Regions from separate parts of the Homo sapiens genome. Here region 1 is linked to region 2. The links are contacts of gene promoters, found by promoter capture Hi-C in blood cells and fetal thymus (Javierre and others, 2016). All regions are on one chromosome and are shown on one strand. The core of a region is centred on a gene start or on the middle of the fragment in contact, and the rest is flanking DNA. Distances in the headings are between cores, read along the strand shown.

Region 1 (5,662 bases), core at 134-2,633, 120 kb after region 2:
GCACTCCAGGCTGAAGCCTTGGAGCTCCAAGCTGTGCAGCTGGGGCCACACAAAGGAACTGACGGATCTGCTGGCCAGGGGACAGCTGTTTCTCAGCAGTGATCCCCAAAGAGTTAACATCTACAGCCTCAAACTTTTCAGGCTATTAATCTGTAATGAGGACTAGGCAGTTTGCAGTTTTGGAACGAAAATGCCAAGAAAGGACTCAGTTCTCCAAGTATCTAAGCCACTGCTTCTGAGCATGCACAAGGGTCACTGAGTGTCCCTTCCTTACTCTCAGGGTGGGGAGGCAGACCATCTGTCCTTGGAGCCTGGGCCTTCCCCGGGTCACCTCACCTCACAACCACAGGTCTCTTAGATAGGATTCACACAGCCCCTGTTTACCCATATCCCGGGCCACAGGTCTGTTAGCTCTCTCACGCAGCATGTCTCCCTTCATCCCTCCTCCCTCTCTCACTCCCTTTTGGCTTTTGTTCGGCTGAGGAAATGGAAAGCTCACACAGGAAGTGCTGGGTCTCATTTGCTTGAGATGCTGAGTCTGTTTTCTCTTTGGATGCTGCAGCAAATGGCCCGTTGCCGGCTCTGAGCTGCTGCCCATCTTTGGGCAAGGGCTCAATCTACAGGCAGGCACGTGGTCCAAGCTACAGCCATCCCCGGCTGGGCTTCACATTCTGGGCTACAGAGAGGCAGAGGGGGTTGGGACATTTGAGTCATATTTGCTTAGTCTTCTCAGACTTCTTCACGAGGAGAGCAAATCTGACCAAATAGTATATTGAATTTAATTACCCAGCAAATACGTTACCGTAGCTGTGGATACCACTTACTCTCTCGTGAAGCCAGTCCGGGCTAGAGAGATAAAACAGTGTAATAGAGAAAAACATCTCCTTCTGTGCTCTCTTTCTTTCTCTCTCTGCAGTTAGGATCAGCAGCTGGTTATCTCTGGAATGCGAGTTTAAGCATGAAAGAGAGGCTTTGCTATCCTGGGGCCTGACCCCAAGGCATGGCTATTTAAGGACTGGTGCCCGCGTTCAACAGAGCAAACCTGGCCTGACTACCACTGAGGGTAGTCCCACCTCAGAGTCTTCAGATCAGAGGCCTGGAAAAGTGGAATCAGAATTGCACCTTCCTTCTTTTGTTTCCCATATTCTCATGTAGCTTCCTAATACTCACTGAGTAAATACTCTGGTTGAGAGATTGGCAAAGGTATGGTGCTTTTGTGGGTTTCAAACTTAATCTCATGCCCACTGACCTTACAGATTGAAGAGGCTTTTCTTTTAAGGTCATAGAGAATAACACACCCCAATGGTTCTGTAGATGCCAAAACTGTAACCCCCCTGACGCTTGTAAAGTCCTTGTTGCTGCTCATCGTTTTGAAGGGTTTGGAAATGCTCCCAAGGGAGCAGGAATGAAATGGCTGCTGTTTAGTGCCCCTTCTTGGCATGCTTTCATTGGTCTTTGCCTGAGTTTCTTCTTTGCAAAGATACATTTCTCTGATCCTAAGATAAGGTGACCAGAGAGCCTGTTTTTCCTACAAAGAGGAAGTCTCCTTTGCTTTTCCTCCAGAAACCCCACTTCCAAATGGTCCCTCTGACATGTGGGACCCTTCTTTCATCTCTCTTCCTTCATTCCCTCCCTGTCTTTAATTTGTTACCCTCTTTCCTTATGCAGTTAGAGAATCATTGCACAGCATCTTCCCCTCTCTGAGGGGAATTCCAGGGTTCATCTTGAGTTTCCTTGGTTCTCTCCTCTTTGCCCATGCTCCTCTTCCTTCCAGTCAAAACCACAACAGCAGGCACATGTGGAACACCTAGGATGATGATGAGAGTATCGTTGGCACTGCAGAGTGATGAGGGCAGGATTGCTGGGCATGTGGGCATGTGTGCCTTCCCTCGCTGTGGCACTTATTAGATCTGTGTGTTAGAGCCAGCATGGATGGAAGCAAGTTGACTCCCCAGTTGTACCCGTTAGGGATTGTAACAGAATGGCTTCATAATCCCAGGAGATTATTGGTATAGAGGATTATAGCAGGATGTGGAAAGTGGCCTGGGGCCACTGTGAAAGTCAATGTAGAGTGCTGGGTGTGTTTAGGACAGACTGCTTGGTTTGGAGGGCCCACCTACTTGCCCCATCTGCTAGCATAGTTTGTGTTCCCATCCACACCAAGCCTCTGGTGAGAAGGGAGAGGCAGCTGCACCCCTACTTCGGCAAGTGAGCACAAGGAAAGTCGTGCTGGAGAGGAGTAGAGCGACAGGCTTCATGGACCTGAGCATAGTGACCCCTTGCATCCCAGGACCTTTGGCAAGGCTAGGGCAGTGGGACAGCCTACCTCATTTCAGTCTCTGCTGAGGCCAAATCTTCACTTATCCTGATTTCTAGTTCTCAGTAAGTGAAAGAGTCAGGGGACTTTGAGAACATCCAAACCTAGCCCAGCTGTGGCAGTTGGTTTATTGCTTTCAGCTGGTACTTGAACCCAGGTCCTGGTCTTGGAGGCTTTCCCAGGTTTAATCCCCAGAGCTTTCTCTGCAGCTGTATGACACTGCGCTGACCCCGAATGAGGATAGGAAAATAGAACCAGTGCCAAGCCAGAGTCTCTTTTTCATTTGGAGTCTGGCTGTCTGCCCATGACCAGGGTTACATAATGGGAAACATAGCTGGGGCTCTGGAGAGCCCGCGTTTCACCAGGCTGCCCAGACCTTCGCATTCTGATGCTATATATCTTCCTAATTGTAGCTCGGATGCATTTATCACACTGTTGGATTGGAGTACTGTTTAAAAAAAAAAAAACTCTAGAAATTCTTGTACTTGCTGCTTTTCCATGGATCGTCTTCCATAGTCTACAGAGCACACTGGAGAAGGGTCGTAGGGAGCCCTCTGAGGTCTTGTCACATAGGGAGAAAGAGGGATACGTAGGGCGTATGCAGTAAGCTGACTTCCTTAGGGAGCTTCCATGTGTTGACTCTGTAGATGAGATAGAAATTCTCAAGTTAAAAAACAACTAGTTCACTCACCTTCATAGGGCAGCTCTGAAATAAGAACTAATCCCAAGGCTAATCGGCACCCCTTCAAGGACACTTAATATGCCTTCCCAAAAGGGCATTTTAGGAGGTCACTGAGTAATAGTCCATCAGCACTTCCCTGAAGGAAGTGGTGGTGGCTGTGGGAAGCCCCTTTGCTACCCTGGCTCCCCACCCAGTCTCCCTGGCTCCGGGTTGGGGCGTTAGCACTGCAGCCTGGCACCAGGGGGTTCCTCTTCCTCCAAGTGCTGAGTGTGGGGCACACGTGATCTCTCCCACGGCAGGAGCCCCTGTCCCCTCCCCACGCCTCCCGTAGGACTCCTTGTGAGAGGAAGGGGTGTTGGCCTAAGGCTCCAGTCTGACCCCAGCAGGGTACAGCAGCTGACCCCAGGGAGAGTACTTTCCAGCTCTGAGCTGAGGTTATTTGGGTCCAGTGTGTGCTAAGCTAAGAAGACGTGTTGGAGTGGTTACAGCTAAAAGTTTGGAGAGGCAGGAACCGTGAGAATCCGCACCAGGGAGGCCGCCGAGGGCTCCACTCATGCCGTGGAGATGTCAGGATCCCCTAGGGGCTGCTCTTTCCCAAACATACAGTGCTGATGGGTTTAGCACACCATAGTGATATGACAGAGGCTATACATATGAGGGTGGCTTTGGAGAACTGAAATCAAATAAGGCGCCGACCCCGAACATATTGGGGGCAGTGGATGGTTGAGGTGCTCTGATACTTGAGAAATCCTGGAACGAGGTTACTGTGACCTATTGCTGGCCATAGGGTTCCAGCTGCCCTGCTTAGAACATGGAGAGGTTTATATTCTTGCAGTAGGGCAGGATGACTAAGCTTCAGAATTTGATTTGCCCTTTTGGGCAAAATTGATTTAGGGTGAGTACTCTCCCAAAGTCCCAAGTCGACTTGTTGGTATAAATGAGAAAGATAGAAGGGATTACCTTCATCTAAGTCTGGTCTCTTTAGGGGTCACCCAGCAAACATCTCTTATTCTTAGAGGATGGTGTCTTGCTGCTCATATCTTAACTCCTGGAATGGTGGCCTTTGATACCTTTGTCTCTTCTTTGTATCATGTGGCATCTGGATGACACATTGTTGCTAGAAATCTCCAGGAGCCGCATAGAATTCTCCCCATCTCCAGCCCAGCCCAGGGCCTCTTGAGCTACCTAGCACTGAGGTACCAGAATCAAATCCTTCGCCCAATGCAAACAGAGTTGGCATGACATCTTGGCTTTCCAAGAGGCATGCTAAGCCATTTCAAGCCCGGGTATTATTCTTTTAACTCTGCCACACTTATTGGATTCAAGTCCATTTCTGCTATTAGCTGCTGAATTCCTGCAGTTTTCTCCAGTGGAGTGAGAAGCTCTCCAGGGCAACAGTGGTCTTATGTTAGCCTCTGACCCCTGCGTGGACAGTTGTAGGCTAGGATATAATGGCCCACAGGGAAACCGTTTGAAAAGGCAGATATTGCATGTCTTAGGCGTGGTTCTCTTGTTACAGCCATTTGTCTTTGTGTCTGTACCACATGGGTGTCCTCTTTTTCAGCTTCTTTGTGCCTAGCTTCTGTGCCATCTTGGCTGTATTTCCAGATCTCCTCACTCCAGGAACCAGAAGACCCAACTTGTTTCCCATCTGTACTGCTTCTCTGATCTTCCATAGCTCTGAAACACAATGCACGGCTTCTTCTCACTCAACTCTTTCCGGGTTTGTTCTGCAGCTGTGGAGTTTGAATGTTAGTGTTTAAACAAGCTGGTATTACACAGGAAATGGCCACCTCCACAGGCCCCAGCAGGCTTGTAACATGGGGTCATTGTACTTGATGTTAATCACCAGTCAGCTTGTTCCCCCAGTAAAATATGAAGGAGTGTGTGAGTGCCTCATCCTCCTTAGACTTGCCAGGAAGATGGACTGAGTCTTGGTCAGGCGTTGGTGCTCCACTCTTTTCAGACTCTCTCCTCCTCTCAGTCCTGCCCCAGTGGAGCTTTCAGAAAAAGTCCTGCCTGACTCCTTCCCTATGAAGCTGGCAGACTGCCTTTCTGAGTTCTGGGCAAGAAGGTAGATTATTGTGGTGTGACGTGTCTCACCTGGCATACCTTAATCTGTCAGAGGATGCTGCAGTTGGGTAACCTCTCCTGTGAGAAAAGCAAAATTTTAGGAACACAGAAACCCATGGCCCCTCTGAGAGCAGGGCTTCTCAGTTCCCTGGACGTCAGCTGCCTTTCTACAGCTATTTGCAGAACTCACCTCAGCCTGAAGGGTTAATCTGATTCCGGAGTCAATATCCCCCAAACAACCAGCCAGGAGTGTGTGTTGGTTTGTTTCTGTGAAATGTGTTTCCCCAGTCACCTGGGCTGGCCTGGGCTGCATTGTATCGGCCAGCAGCTGCACTGCACTCAAACTGACAGATACATTAAACCTTGGAATTCTGAGGCAATAAAAAGTAAATTAACTCTTATTTTTTTCCTTTCCTGGTGGACTAAGTGAATGCATGTCTGTAGGGAAGCAAGTGAGCCTTGGTTCTGAGTGCATACTTGTAACTAGTCACTGCTGGTTTGTCCCAAACTCGGATCTGGCTTTCCGACTCCAGCCAGGGCTCTGCCGTCCTGGTGTGTGGTGTGTTCTGTGGGGTTGGGCCAGTGGGTCA
Region 2 (5,944 bases), core at 2,524-5,023:
TGTTGTAATTGCCAAAATCATTGTAGCTTCCACCTCCAAAATTGCTTCCATCATTACCAAATCCATTATAGCCATCCCCACTGCACGATATCCACCACCACCACAGCTGCCACCAAAGCCACCATGACCACTGAAATTTCCTTCACAACCAAAGTTGTCATTCCTACCGAAACCACCTCCACGACCACCACCAAAGTTTCCAGAAGTACTTTGACCTCTTTGGCTGGATGAAGCACTCACCATCTCTTGCTTTGACAGGCCTTTCCTAATTTCACAGTTGTGGCCATTCACAGTATGGTATTTCTGAATGACAGTCTTATCCACGGAGTCATGATCATCAAAGGTTACAAAGGCAAAGCCCCTTTTCTTGCCACTGCCTTGGTCAGTCATGATTTCAATCACTTCAGTTTTTCCATACTGTTCAAAATAATCACTTAGGTGATATTCTTCAGTGTCTTCGTTAATGCCACCAACAAATATCTTTTCCATAGTTAAGTGGGCATCTGGTCTTTGAGAATCTTCTCTTGAGACAGCTCTCTTTGGTTCCACAACTCTTCCATCCACCTTGTGTGGCCTTGCATTCGTGGCTGCATCCACCTCCTCCTCAGTGGCATATGTGGCAAATCCAAAGCCCCTGGAGTGCTTGGTGTTTGGATCTCTCATTACCACACAGTCCGCGAGTGTTCCCCATTGCTCAGAATGGCTCCTCAGGCTCTCATTGGTTGTTTCAAAGCTCAGCCCTCCAATGAAGAGCTTCTTCAGCTGTACGAGCTCTTTAGGAGACTCTGACTTAGACTTGGCGGTGTCCATGGGTGGAAAGTGTTTGTTTTGTTTTATTTTTGAGACAGAGTCTCTATCTGTCACCCAGGCTGGAGTGCAGTGGCGTGATCTCGGCTCACTGCAGCCTCTACCTCCTTGGTTCAAGTGATTCTCCTGCCTCAGTCTCCCAAGTAGCTGGGATTACAGGCACCCACCACCACGCCCGGCTAGTTTTTGTATTTTTAGTAGAGACGGGGTTTCGCCATGTTGGCCAGGCTGGTCTCGAACTCCTGACCTCAAGTGATCTGCCCACCTTGGCCTCCCAAAGTGCTGGGATTACAGGCATGAGCCACGGGGCCTGGCCTAAAATTGTTGTTTTTAAAAAAATTCCAAATGGTTAGAATGTTTTGCTTCATTTGTGGCTATTCACTTCTAGTTTTATTACTTTGTGCTAAGTAAATATGACCTGTACAATTTTTTTTTTTGACGGAGTCTCACTCTGTCGCCCAGGCTGGAGTGCAGTGGAGCAATCTCGGCTCGCTGCAACCTCTGCCTCCCAGGTTCAAGCAGTTCTCCTGCCTGAGCGTCCCAAGTAGCTGGGACTACAGGTGCCCGCCACCACACCCAGCTAATTTTTTTGTATTTTAGTAGAGATGGGGTTTCATCTTGCCCAAGCTGGTTGGGAACTCCTGAGCTCAGGCAATCTGCCCACCTCGGCCTCCCAAAGTGCTGGGATTACAGGCGTGAGCCACCGCGCCCGGCCAACTTGTACAATTTTTACTTTTAGAAACTGAATTCAAGGCTGGGCGCGGTGGCTCACGCCTGTAATCCCAGCACTTTAGGAGGTTGAGGCGGGTGGATCACCTGAGGTCAGGAGTTCGAGACCAGACTGGTCAACATGGTGAAACCCCATCTCTACTAAAAATACAAAAAATTAGCTGGGCATGGTGGTGGGCGCCTGTAATACCAGCTACTCAGGAGGCTGAGGCAAGAGAATTGCTTGAAACCAGGAGGCAGGTTGCAGTGAGCCAAGATTGTGCCACTGCACTCCAGCCTGGGCAACAAGAGTGAAACTCCGTCTCAAAAAAAACGAAAAACAAAAAATCTCAGCAGCTTTCATTGTGATACTGACTTAAATATGGTTGTCTTTCTTGTCATTTCTTTTTACCTGGTATTTCATGAATTCTTTAAATCTGATAATTCAAAAATTTCCACCAACGTAGTAAATTTTCTTCTACTATTTGATTATTGCTCTTCTGCAGTCAGCTGTATTATCCCCTTCTGGAACTCGTATTTAATTATTAATTTTTTGTACCCCTTCTCCATGTCTCCTATCTTTGTCTCTCAGTTTTTATCTATTACCTTTTCCTTCTGAGTTCTGGTAAATTTTCTTGAACTGGTTTAACTTTTGGCATATCTAATCTGCAGTTCACTGACACTGTTGCATTAAATGGGTGGTGCCATTTGTCCTAAGAAAGTTTTCTTGTTTTCCATTATTTTTCCAGCTGAAAAAAGAAATCATGCAATGGCCTCTCAAATTTCAATATGAAACAGATTATTTTTTAACGCTTCTTCCTATTTCTCTCAAATCTGGTGGCAAAGGCTGTCTTCTGCTCTGACCACTCAAATGGTTCCTCTTCTGAACTGTTGGATCTTTTCACCCATCATCTACTGACTTTCTTCTTATGCTTAACCTTCCGGTGACAAAGTGTCACGTAAAAGGAACTGAAGGAGTTCTGTCAGAGGTTGTGGCAATCCCTTCGGCTCAGACTAAGGAATAATTGGTAACTATTCTGTGATGGGTGTGGGGTAAAAGCCTATGGGGCTGTGGAGGGGCAACAGGTGGAGGCAGGAGGCCTTGGGGAAGGGAGCTTCACCTCTGTACAGTTCTCCAAAAAAAGATTCAAGTACCAGCCTTCTGGTATAGTTCAATTTTAAAGATGGGAAATTAAAAAGTCAACCTGAGATCCACAGCAGTAATTTTTTTCAAGAATCCATAGTGACACAGAAATTCCCAAATTGACTTTTTTTTTTTTTTGAGGCGGAGTCTCGCTCTGTTGGAGACTCCCGGGCTGGAGTGCAGTGGCGCGATCTCGGCTCACTGCAGTCTCCGCCTCCCGGGTTCAAGCGATCCGCCCGTCTCAGCGTTCCGAGTCGCCGGGATTACAGGTCCCAAATGGACTTATATGCCTCCTGATGTACTTCCTTCCACACGATTCCAACTATATCGTATCTAGTTTTTAAAAGTCAGGGGGCGGCCGGGCGCGGTGGCTCACGCCTGTAATCCCAGCACTTTGGGAGGCCGACGCGGGTGGATCACCTGAGGTCAGGAGTTCGAGACCAGCCTAGTGAAACCCCGTCTCTACAAAAAATACAAAAATTAGCCGGGCTTGGTGGCGTGCACCTGTAATCCCAGCTACTAGGGAGGCTGAGGCAGGAGAATCGCTTGAATCCAGGAGGCAGAGGTTGCAGTGAGCCGAGACCGCGCCACTGCACTCCAGCCCGGGAGTCTCCAACAGAGCGAGACTCCAACTAAAAAAAAAAGGGAATAGTAACAACTACTCTTAGCAGATCTTCAAGGTCCCAAGTAATGGCCCGCGGCGCTAGGCCGGGCCTGTGGCGGGAGAGCCTGGCCTAAGGTGTCCAGAGGAGCCCAGGCTGAGGGGTGTCTCTGTCAACCCGAGTCCCAGACTAGCAGTGTCCTTGGTGTCCACGACAACAGCAACGGCAGCCACCGCCGCAAACGCCCGCCTGGCCTGGCACGGCCCGGCCTCGCCTCACCTCAGCTCACCGGCGCCGCGCCTCCAGCTCCAGCCTCCGCGCGCCTCCCCGGCCGCACCTCTGCGCACGCGCAGCGCCCGCCCGCCCCACCCAGGCTCTCGCTCCGGTCCCGCCCCTCTGGAACCGGCGGCGGGCGCTTTTCCTCCCAGCGCGGCCACCGTCGTTCGGAAAGGGAGGGCGGCAGGGGGCGGGGAAAGGCCGGGAGGTGGGCGAGCGCGCGCGCCGCCCGTCTGTGGTGGTTTCCTGGCTGCGCGCGGCGGTGGCGGAGCCGCTACGGCTGTAGCAGCAGCCGCGAAGATGGCGGAAGGGCTGGAGCGTGTGCGGATCTCCGCGTCGGAGCTGCGCGGGATCCTGGCTACTCTGGCCCCGCAGGCCGGGAGCAGAGGTGAGTCGCGCCGCCCAGCTCCTGGGCCGGGCCTGCCCGCCCCGCCTCCCTCTCCTCCTCCTCTGCCTCCTCCCCGCTCGGCCCTCGGCTCCGGAGCCCCCGCCCCTTCCCCCAGCAGTAGGCGCTGGGGCCGCGGCGGACCCTCGCTGCCCTACCTCTCTCGCGGGTTAGTGCGGGGTCGGGCTCGGCCAGTCCTGGCCAGCTCCGGGAGAGCCTGGCCCGAATTCCTGCCTCCACCCTCTTTCTCGCCGCGAAGGTGACTGTTCCTTTTGCCCCAGCCCTCTCAGACCCGCCCCGGATTCCCAGGCATCGGGAGACGCGGAAAGGAGTGGGGTCTGGTGGAGGCCCCGGGCGTATCGCTCTCCAGGCCGCCCTCCGCGGGCCTGCCCCGGCCACCGCTTTAACGTCGGAGAGAAGGAATTGGGGAGAAAGGTTTAAGAGCCTGCGACTTCGTTGCTGAACTTTTCCCCCCCAAGACAGGCTTCCGAAAGCTGCGCCACTGGAGGGATCCGGGACCTCAGACTACTCGGGTTTGGCCCTGGCATGTGTGGGAGCAGTTTTTATTAGAGAGAATGCTCAATTTGCAAGTTAATTTCAAGTCTCCAGCCACGTCAGGAAAGTAAGAAAGATTCTAAGTGTCTCACCTCTCCTGCGTTAGGCAATAGAGTTGTGTAGAATGGTAGCTGTGATAGGTGCCTTCTCTAGGTTTGCGGCCAGTCTGTGAAATTGGTTTTTGTTGATTAACATAATTGGATTATTAAGGCTATTTTCTCCCGCTGCTCTAGAAAGTAGTAGGAATAGCTTTCCCCATCCCCCCGCCCCCCACCAAGTTACAGACTGCCGAGGGTGAGCTATTCTTGGGTTAAACTGCTTTATCTTTGTGGATACTTCATGAACCTACCTTTTAAACTTATGAAAATAGTGAAGCACTATCCAAAACCTCAGTCTCTTTTCTTCCCCTTTTCCTTACACCTACAAACAGTAAATGTACTTGCTGGAGCATATGATTCCTGTTTTGGGCTTGTTTCCATTTATATTTAGAGAGCAATACTAGGATTAAAAACTTTTTTATTGTTGTTATTATTATTTTTTGAGACGGAGTCTAGCTCTGTCGCCCAGGCTGGAGTGCAGTGGCGCGATCTCTGCTCACTGCAACCTCCGCCTCCCGGGTTCACGCCATTCTCCTACCTCAGCCTCCCCAGTAGCTTGGACTGTAGGCGTGTGCCACCACGCCTGGCTAATTTTTTGTATTTTTGTAGTGACGGGGTTTCTCCGTGTTGGCCAGGATGGTCTGGACTCCTGTCCTCGTGATCCGCCCGCCTTGGCCTCCCAAAGTGCTGGGATTACAGGCGTGAGCCACCGTGCCCGGCCAATTTTTTTGAGGCAGGGTCTCACTCTGTCTTCCAGGCTGGAGTGCAGTGGAGGGATCTCAGCTCACTGTAGCCTCCCCCTCCTGTGCTCAAGTGATCCTCCCACCTCAGCCTTCCGAGTAGCTGGAATTACAGACCTGCACCACCACACCTGGCTATTTTTTGTATACGTTATAGAGACAGGGTGTTGCCATGTTGCCCAGGCTGATCTCGAACTCCTGGCCTCAAGCAGTCCTCCCGCCTCAGCCTCCCAAAGTGCTGGGATTATAGGCGTGAGCTACTGCACCTGGCCTATGCTAGGATTTTATATAGCATTCCATTTGTGTACTTGATAATATTCTCCCGAATTCTGTCACTTTTCCATTGTAATGTTTAGTGGTTACTTTTGATAACGGTAACAGATACTTTTTTAAAAAACCAGATACTTAAGTAAGTATCTGTCCGCTGGGCTGGAGTGCACTGGCGCGATCTCCGCGTACTGCAAGCTCCGCCTCCTGGGTTCACGCTATTCTCCTGCCTCAGCTTCCCGAGTAGCTGGGACTACAGGCGCCCACCACCACGCCCGGCTAATTTTTTGTATTTTTTGTTGAGACGGGGTTTCACCGTGTTAGCCAGGATGGTCTCGATCTCCTGACCTCGTGATCCACCC

The links. The method cuts DNA at HindIII sites, captures the fragments that hold promoters and counts their contacts. A CHiCAGO score of 5 or more calls a contact.
Region 1: a fragment that was not itself captured here is called in contact with the fragment with the promoter of SMG6 in region 2 in 1 of 17 cell types (activated CD4 T cells); the score reaches 5.2 in activated CD4 T cells.

What each region holds. Positions count from the first base shown.
Region 1 is chr17:2,176,705-2,182,366 of GRCh38, reverse strand. All of the region lies in intron 12 of SMG6 (SMG6 nonsense mediated mRNA decay factor), which reads left to right. Among named protein-coding and RNA genes, the nearest start is that of SMG6-AS1, 90 kb to the right of the region's middle. RefSeq lists enhancers at 1,372-3,663, 4,425-5,662. The HindIII fragment of the contact is 4,942 bases long and covers 1-3,854 here.
Region 2 is chr17:2,301,614-2,307,557 of GRCh38, reverse strand. SMG6 (SMG6 nonsense mediated mRNA decay factor) reads left to right here and starts at 3,773. Exons shown (of 19, transcript NM_017575.5): 1 at 3,773-3,925. The coding sequence starts at 3,838. SRR (serine racemase) reads right to left here and starts at 3,608. Exons shown (of 8, transcript NM_021947.3): 1 at 3,541-3,608. It also overlaps the pseudogene HNRNPA1P16. RefSeq lists silencers at 3,524-3,743, 3,934-4,143 and enhancers at 3,645-4,371, 4,701-5,515. The HindIII fragment of the contact is 10,069 bases long and covers 1-5,944 here.